Regions from separate parts of the Homo sapiens genome. Here region 2 is linked to region 1. The links are contacts of gene promoters, found by promoter capture Hi-C in blood cells and fetal thymus (Javierre and others, 2016). All regions are on one chromosome and are shown on one strand. The core of a region is centred on a gene start or on the middle of the fragment in contact, and the rest is flanking DNA. Distances in the headings are between cores, read along the strand shown.

Region 1 (3,845 bases), core at 610-3,109:
GGTGCAGGGTGTTTCAAAATTGGAATTGGAATTAAAAGAAAAATGCATTAGGATCGCAGTGGAGCAAGGGTCGCGAAACCATACATTTACAGATAACCACCTTCTACAATTTTAAAAACATTTTCAAAGATTAGTCTTTATAACAATCCTTTGAGTAGGCAGGTCAGGTAATCATATGTCCACCTAGGAGGGGTAAAAAAGGAAGCTCATGAATTATGAGGGCTTACTCAGCTCTTCTGACTCCATCACTCTGACCATTAAAATGAGGCAGCCCTAAACAAAGCCAAAATCTCCACGAGAGAGTTGAATAAATAACACATAGTATAGTAAGGAAAAAAAAAAAAAGCAGGAAGTAAGAAGGTTAATACATTTGGGCAAAAAGAAGGAAACCAGAAAAGAAAATTAGTTCAGTGATTCAAAGGGAGATGGATGTGCAATGCATTAGTCCATGCGTCTTAAAAGGGACTGGACAATGTGAACTGTGTTTCCTGAGGGAAGAACCATCTCCCCCTTTCTCCTATCCAGCGGTTGGCTAAGTGCAACTCCCCTAAGCTCTCTGAGCACCCTGCATGTATCTGTATTTTAGCATTCACCATCCTTTTGACAATTTCCATTTAAATAACAGCTAAATTGAAAACTCCCCTAGGATGGGGACCACTCTTACTAATTTTTGCACACAGAACAGTACTTGGTCCTACCAGGTGCTCCATAAATGTTTTCTGATCTTAACTTTAACAATTTTTTCCATATTCTTTTCTATTTCTAACATTTGCTGATTAGACCTGGCTTTCCACTCCCAACATCGCTACTAACTAGCTGGCCACTCCTGGACAAATAAATAATACAAGTTTTCTGAAATTCATCTATTATAAAAAGGTGTTGAAATAGGCCTTTCTAATATTCTTTCCAGCTCTAAACAGCTTCCATGTTACAAATCAGGGTTTATAGATGGAATTACAGGTCTTCGAGAGGAGAATAGCAAATGTGCTTAGGCGAAGGGGGTGGGTGGAAAATGAACGCTTATCTTGGCACAGCAGTTTAACGAGAGGAGAAGCAAAGTTGATTGGTAGGCCAAAATTTTGAAGAACAGGAGAGGGAGGCGGGGGTGAGGGGAGTGGGGTAACAGGACTTAGAAGAGGTGGTGGTGAGAAAAAGGGGGTAAGGCAATCGATAGCTAGGTTCACCTCGATCTGTCAGAGCCCAGGGATGAAGGGATAGAGAGTCTACGGAGATAAAGTGGGCAGCTATGCTAGTTCCTGTGGATGCTAATAACAGGAGCCCCTCGTTTCTTCCTGATCCTGGAATTATTCTACAAGGAGAGGAAGGTGCTATGAAAATAAATGATGCCTCACAGGCGACAGGTGTCCCAGCGTCCCGAGACAGGAGCCCGCTGTCTCCCGCTGGAGGGGAGACTCTTGCAGGAAAGAAAGTCCGTTCTGTCGCCACCGGCCAGCTGTGCCCGAAAAGTCCCAGGAAGAAACTCTCGCTCATCCGCGGCGAGCGGATCCCGGGCACAGGGGCTGGAGGCCGACCCGGTGAGAGTGCAAGGTCTCGCGACCACCGACGACAGCAGACAGCGAGTCGGGCCTTCCCATCTGAGGCCAGCTTCAGTACAGGCCTCCAAGCCCGGGCTTGTTTTGGCCGCGACGTCACTTCCGATTTCTTCTTTCGCCTTCTGGCTAAAAAACGTTCCGCAGCAATGCAGCTGAAACTTTCGGGTTTTCTTTTTTTTGTCCCTCTCTCCTTTTTTTTAATATTTTTGTTTTTGCCGCCTTTACGCTCCGAGGCCCATCCTGCCGGAGTACTACACAGACAGGGTCATTTCAGTTGACGGTTCTGGGTCACCAGAGCAGAGGAAGCCCCAATTTCGCCCTCCGGTCACACCTCCTACTCCAGATCGCCCCGCCCACCTGACCCGCCTCTGCGCCGCCGGGCTGCGTGAGTCTCATGAGCGTGCTCTGGTACGTCATCTTCGCGCGACGTTCGGTTCGCTGTGTGTGTCGCCGGCTCCTTGAGGGTCCATGTGATTTTTACGCCAGTGCTGCTGAACTGTGCAGGGTAGGGAGCTGGCACAGTCCGATTAATTGTCCTTGGGTCGAGGTGTCTCGTCGGACCCTTTGGGGCTCAGTGGAGGTAGGTGAAGGCGGCTCCCATTGAGGGAAGCCCACACTCACACCCGGCCTTCCTGTGTTAATCTGGCATGCTCTTCTGGGGCTTCCCAGGCTATATAGGAGAGTGGCCAAATTCTTTAACCGGCTCAAGTTCCCCTCAATTAAGCTTCGACCTAGGTTCTTCTCTGCGATTACACCCTTTCCTGTCCACCGTTGTTAGTTCCCGGAGTAATCAGCAACTCTCCAAGGCAATGGACACATTTCCATCTTTGCCTTTGCTTACGAGGCTCCCTCAGGTGAAGTGAACCTAATGGAGTTTTAAAATATTTGGGAGATAAAATCAGCAGATCTTGTTAACTATTTGGATGTTAGGAGTGAGGAAGAAAAGGACACGTCAAGGCTGAGTCTAGGTTAATATCTGGTGCCAGTCACCAGCCAAAATGGAGTATATTGGAGTAAGCAAAGGCACAGACCATGTCTTTATTTCATTCACCATTATAGCCCCAGTGCCTAGAGCAGTGTCCTGCACATTGGTAGGTACTTTAATGAACAGAAGAGTGTTCCCAAAGACCAGTGAAATACAATCATTGGTCATTGTATTTCATTAAAGCACCTTTTAAATATATGTTACACCTATTTATCGTGGTGTTACTAATGTAAAGTTTTCAGGCTTTTTGGAATAGATGATGAGCAGCACCTCTGGAATCATTTACCTGATAACATTGAATCTCTTTTGCAATTGAGTCGTTCTGGAAAAATGTTTTGGCTTGATTGCATGTTATTTAAAAGTTTTATCCTATTCTGCCACTTTAGTGTTGAATTTAATTTCAGGACTGCTTTATTACAGTTTTCTTTCCTACTGTTTAAACCTTTTAAAGTAAATTTAATTTTAAGCTTCTACATTAGAATATTAGCTTTGTGTTTCTTACTTCTTGGCATTTTTAGGCTTTCAGGAAATCAAATCCGTAACTATAATTGTTATAGATTAAATGTCATCTTAAACTTGGTTTCAGGAAACTTGTATTTGCAGTTTCACCTTAATATTTCCTGTTGCCAAAAAATGGACACTCAAAGCCAGCATGATCCTTTTTGGTTTGGCTACTGTAAGGCTGTGCTAGATTTATTCCTAAGTGTTGTAAAATGGTTGGCTAGGTGTGAGAACCTTTGTGTACAGCTGAATAGATGGTGCGATATGATAGCCTTCACTTTAATTATTCCTGCTTCCTATAGATTGCCTTTTCTGGGTTAGAATTAAATGGCTTATTGGTCTCTAATCTATATACTTCCACACAGACTTTTTAAAGAAAGCAGAGTGAAAATCAACTATGTGTACAAGCTTATAATATGTATATAAAATATTTTATTTTTCAGAATTAAGGCAGAGTCACTGTAATTATTTCTAATACCAATTCCAAAATAGTGACTCTTGGACAATAGTGCAATTATATGGAATTATGGCTGGTTATAAGCCTGTAGCTATTCAGACATATCCTATACTTGGTGAAAAAATCACCCAAGATACACTGTACTGGAACAACTATAAGGTGAGTGTGGGACGTAATGAGGGAGAAGGGATTTGTGTTTATGCCAATTTCTCTAGCATATGTTATACTCTGGATGCTCTAACAGAGAATTATTAACTGAAAACCATCTATCAGCAGCTTATAGTTTGGGCAGATAATTTGATATCTATTTTTTCTTGGAATTTTATGTAAAAGTCCATACTGCTTAATC
Region 2 (3,845 bases), core at 415-2,914, 6.4 Mb after region 1:
AAAACCTTCCAATTTATAAAAGTTCAAAATGTTATTGACACAATTTTTTTAAGTACAGTATTGGCAAAACAAATAACTTATCCATTCATATAAATCTTTACATGTTTAAACATTTTGGATACATAATTCTCTACTGTTAAAACATTTAGATACATTATTCCATAAAACTGCTATTAAGAGCTTTTTAAAAATAATATAGTTGCTAGTTGGTGAGAGCTCAGGTGTCATGCCCAGCACAAAATGTGTACCAACTATGTGACAAAATACACAATCCTATCAATAAGTTTAATAGTGAAAATGGCTAATTAAATCTACTTACATACAAATTTCAATAAAATTCAAGCAAAGTTTATTAAAATATAAACTGACTACCTCTTCATATGACTTTCAAATCACAGAACTCATGCTTTAGAGCAGTGATTCTCAAATCTATTTTTACATCTTGTCCCAGGTATCTCCAATTGTCTAATGAGTTGGCAAAAAAAAATAAATAAATAAAATAAAGCCCAACATGCAGGGATCAACAATCTACCAATCTACTTCTTCAAAGTGAACCACCCACCTGTTTTCTTAAAAAGTTTAGTATTTTTGCTGGCTGAGAAACCATGTCGTCTTCAGTTGTCAAAATTGGTACATCGCCTATAATCAAAAAACAGTTTACATACAAGGACACAGTGTGATTTCCTCTGAGAGATTCCAATATCCTAAAAACTATAGCAGTTGCACATTTAGAGGGGAAAAAATGAGTAAGCTTGTCTTGGTTTTTTTGCTGTTTCACAAAGAGCGGTTCTAAAGAACATTTTCGTTTCTCATAATTTCCAGTGATTTCGCTTGCACTTTGAGGTATTACTCAGAATGATCAAACCATAAACAACACAGAGCCAAGGTCACGGTAAGAAACTAAATCCTCAATATTATAGCTATATACCTCACAGCTTTAAATGGAAGAAGAAAAAAAAGAGTGCAGAAAGGGGAGTGTAAAGGTTTACACTATACCTCTTGAACCTCTCCAGGTGTTATCTATCACATTGACTTTCAAGGGTGCACCAGAAAATTTGGCATAAGCCTGAAACAGAGTTTGCAATCAAACATTTTAGACCAAGTGCGTAATGCAAAGCTGCAGAGCAGCTTTACTTCACAGCCCCATCCCCCAAAGGCAGAAGGCGACTGATACTGAGGCCGCATCCCTCCCCGTGATCTCAAGTAGGGACGCGGGCGCCAGCCACCCGGCTTTCGAGGACTTTGCTCCCCAAAAGGTCCTGGGGATGCAGAGTAGGGAGGGCGCGCCCCTTGCTTCGGGGTTTCACTCCACCGCCCAGACAGCTTTGTGAGGCGGACAAAACTCGGAGCCAAGCGGAGAAGCCTTGATGTCGCCGCCGGCCTTCGGCGGGGGTATCGGCCAGGTTGGGACTCGTCGGTGGGAGGGAGCCCAGGGCAATGCAGCGTGCAGCGGCTCGGCCCTCCTGGACCCCGCAGCGCAGCGGGAAACTGGGGCAAGTCAGCCTGGCGCCTCCAGCCCCGCCCCTTCCTCCTGCGCCCTGGCCCGCGAGGCGGCCTCACCATCACCACCAGGGACTCGCTGTGAACCGATGGGAGTCCCCAGCCGCCTCCCCAGCAACTGAGTTCCAAGGGGGCCGCCATCTTGCGCGGGCCGACCTTTACTATCCCGGAAGTACTTTTCCTCCTAATTTCCGGCACGTGAAACGCGGGGGCGTGGCTAAGGGAGGGAAGGGTAATTTGGGGGCTCTTGAGAGATGAGAGAAACAACGACTGGAGGGATTAAGAAGAACTCTTAGGAGCAGCTTGGCCTAAAGGGTAAGAGTTGTGTGCCTTAAGTCAGACCCACCAGTAATTCTTCAAATATTAATATTTATTAGATCCCTAGAGTGTTCCAAACCCTTTGAACATTAAATCTGTGTGATGCCTAAATTAACCTGTTTGTAAAACAGGGATGACCCAGTATTTACAAGATTGTGGTATTTACAATGTCGGAGAGAAAGAACTTGGCACACAGGAGGCACTCAGTAATTGTTCAACCCCTTCTCCCATGTATGTGGCCTCTGCCTGCCTTTCCAGCCTCAACCTGTTCTCACCCTCATGTTCACTGGCACAACCCTGCTTAAAAGTTACAGTATTTCTGAACGTCAGGTAAATTGTGCCCACCTTCAGTGCTGGTCCTTCAATCTGGAATATCTTTCTTCCCTATGCAGCTGCTCCCTCAAAAATGAGCTTAACTCACCTTCCCTGTGATGTTTTTACAAAGTTAGGAGCTCTGGGTTCTTGTAGCCCCTTGTGCATATTTGAATTGTAGCTTCTCTCCCTAGCTACAGACCTTTTGCCTTTCACAGAAGAGGGCTAGCTTCATAGGTTTGGGACCTGTGCAGCCACACAAGGCTCTGTGCTTAAAAAGGCTCCTCATTTGGCTGATGCTCTTCCGTCACTGTCTTGAAATTCTTAAGTTTTGAACAAGGGGCTCTGCATTTTTATTTTGGACTGGGCCCCTCAAATCATGTAGCTCGTCATGTCTGTGGGCCTAATGAGCACAGACTAAATGTTTCTTGACGTTAAACCTGACAGTTTCTCAGAAAAACTATTAAAGAGGAAATTTTGGTCTTGGAAATGCTATGATCCAAACATATGACTGGGTCTCAGAGTTAGAACTTGGGTGCTGGGTCTTTTTTCTAGAAGGCACAGTAGTCTTTCTGGGACACCCTCGCAGTCATGCCTCTGAGTTCTTTCCTCTATTCCACTGAGATGGTCGGATCTTCTTAACTAAAACTCAAAAGAAACCTCTGCAACTTTTCGTAAAATTACTATTCAACAAATATTTGCTAGGCACTCCCTTACTGTTTACATAATCATTCAAATTACAGTGCCAGCCTGCTAAAGTCTTTTTTACATGTTTCAAAACCAAGAGTTCTAAGAAATGAAAAAGAGATATGTCAGAAATGAGAATTCATTAATAATAACTGTATAATTGGAAAATGCATAACATATGTACCATTAAAACTGTCGAAACATTTATTGAGCAGCTCCTATGTCTTAGACATCATAAGGTTCTGGAACAATACAGAAATATATAAAACATGAATTCTGTCCTCGGGAGTTTACAGTGCACAAAGGAGATATACACACACCAAGGTGTAACAAGTCAGATAATCACGAGTAGGGTTAGAAATATAAGCAAAATACTACAGAAACACAAAGGAGGGACAGTGCATCCTCTGTGTGATCAGTGGAGACTATCTGTTGAGTCTTCAGTATAAAGAAAGTAAAGTAATTCAACTTTCAGATTGTAATGGAACCTCCCTGTTTTGAGGGTTAGAAATGTCAAACCATAGACTGACAAAGGCAAGGCAGGGGGAAAGAAAATCCTAAGCCATAAAGCTGAGGGTCCATATACTACATTCAGGCATTTAAAACAATCATACAGAAAGAATGTGGATTTCCTGAGCCTTGTTTGTAGCAGGACTGAGAGGAGTGAATGAACATTCTTAGTGGACACATAACACAGTTACTCAGTTTGGCCTTCTTCCGTACTGCTGCTACTACATACAGTGATTTCATTTGCATTAAAGAGAAATTAAATCTCTTCCCTTAGTGTTGAATTGAGACAGAATAGCATGTCATTGCATCTGATGAAAGAATCCTTACACACAGGTTTATTAGTGCATAGATAATAGCAATCTTTTATTGCTGCAGTTCCTCTTGAGAGTCTGTATCTGTTAGATTGAATTTAAAAAACTCTAACATAGCTGATTGCACAAACAGGCTGAATACTGTTCCAGAGAACCACACAGAAAATTGAAGCCTTCAGAAATTATGCCTGGTATGGTTAGTTGGCT

What was found. The method cuts DNA at HindIII sites, captures the fragments that hold promoters and counts their contacts. A CHiCAGO score of 5 or more calls a contact.
Region 2: a contact is called between the fragment with the promoter of MTX3 here and the fragment with the promoter of ANKRA2 in region 1, in 1 of 17 cell types (total B cells). The highest score is 5.4, in total B cells.

The regions. Positions count from the first base shown.
Region 1 is chr5:73,563,780-73,567,624 of GRCh38, forward strand. It overlaps ANKRA2 (ankyrin repeat family A member 2), which reads right to left and starts at 1,860. Exons shown (of 9, transcript NM_023039.5): 1 at 1,353-1,860. It overlaps UTP15 (UTP15 small subunit processome component), which reads left to right and starts at 1,964. Exons shown (of 13, transcript NM_032175.4): 1 at 1,964-2,133; 2 at 3,483-3,655. The coding sequence starts at 3,566. RefSeq lists enhancers at 1,120-1,674, 1,254-1,303, 1,324-1,533, 1,544-2,103, 1,675-2,229. The HindIII fragment of the contact is 2,502 bases long and covers 1-2,275 here.
Region 2 is chr5:79,989,598-79,993,442 of GRCh38, forward strand. It overlaps MTX3 (metaxin 3), which reads right to left and starts at 1,665. Exons shown (of 9, transcript NM_001363818.2): 1 at 1,561-1,665; 2 at 997-1,066; 3 at 563-639. The coding sequence starts at 1,641. It also overlaps a transcript of THBS4 not described here. RefSeq lists an enhancer at 1,163-1,332. The HindIII fragment of the contact is 4,262 bases long and covers 750-3,845 here.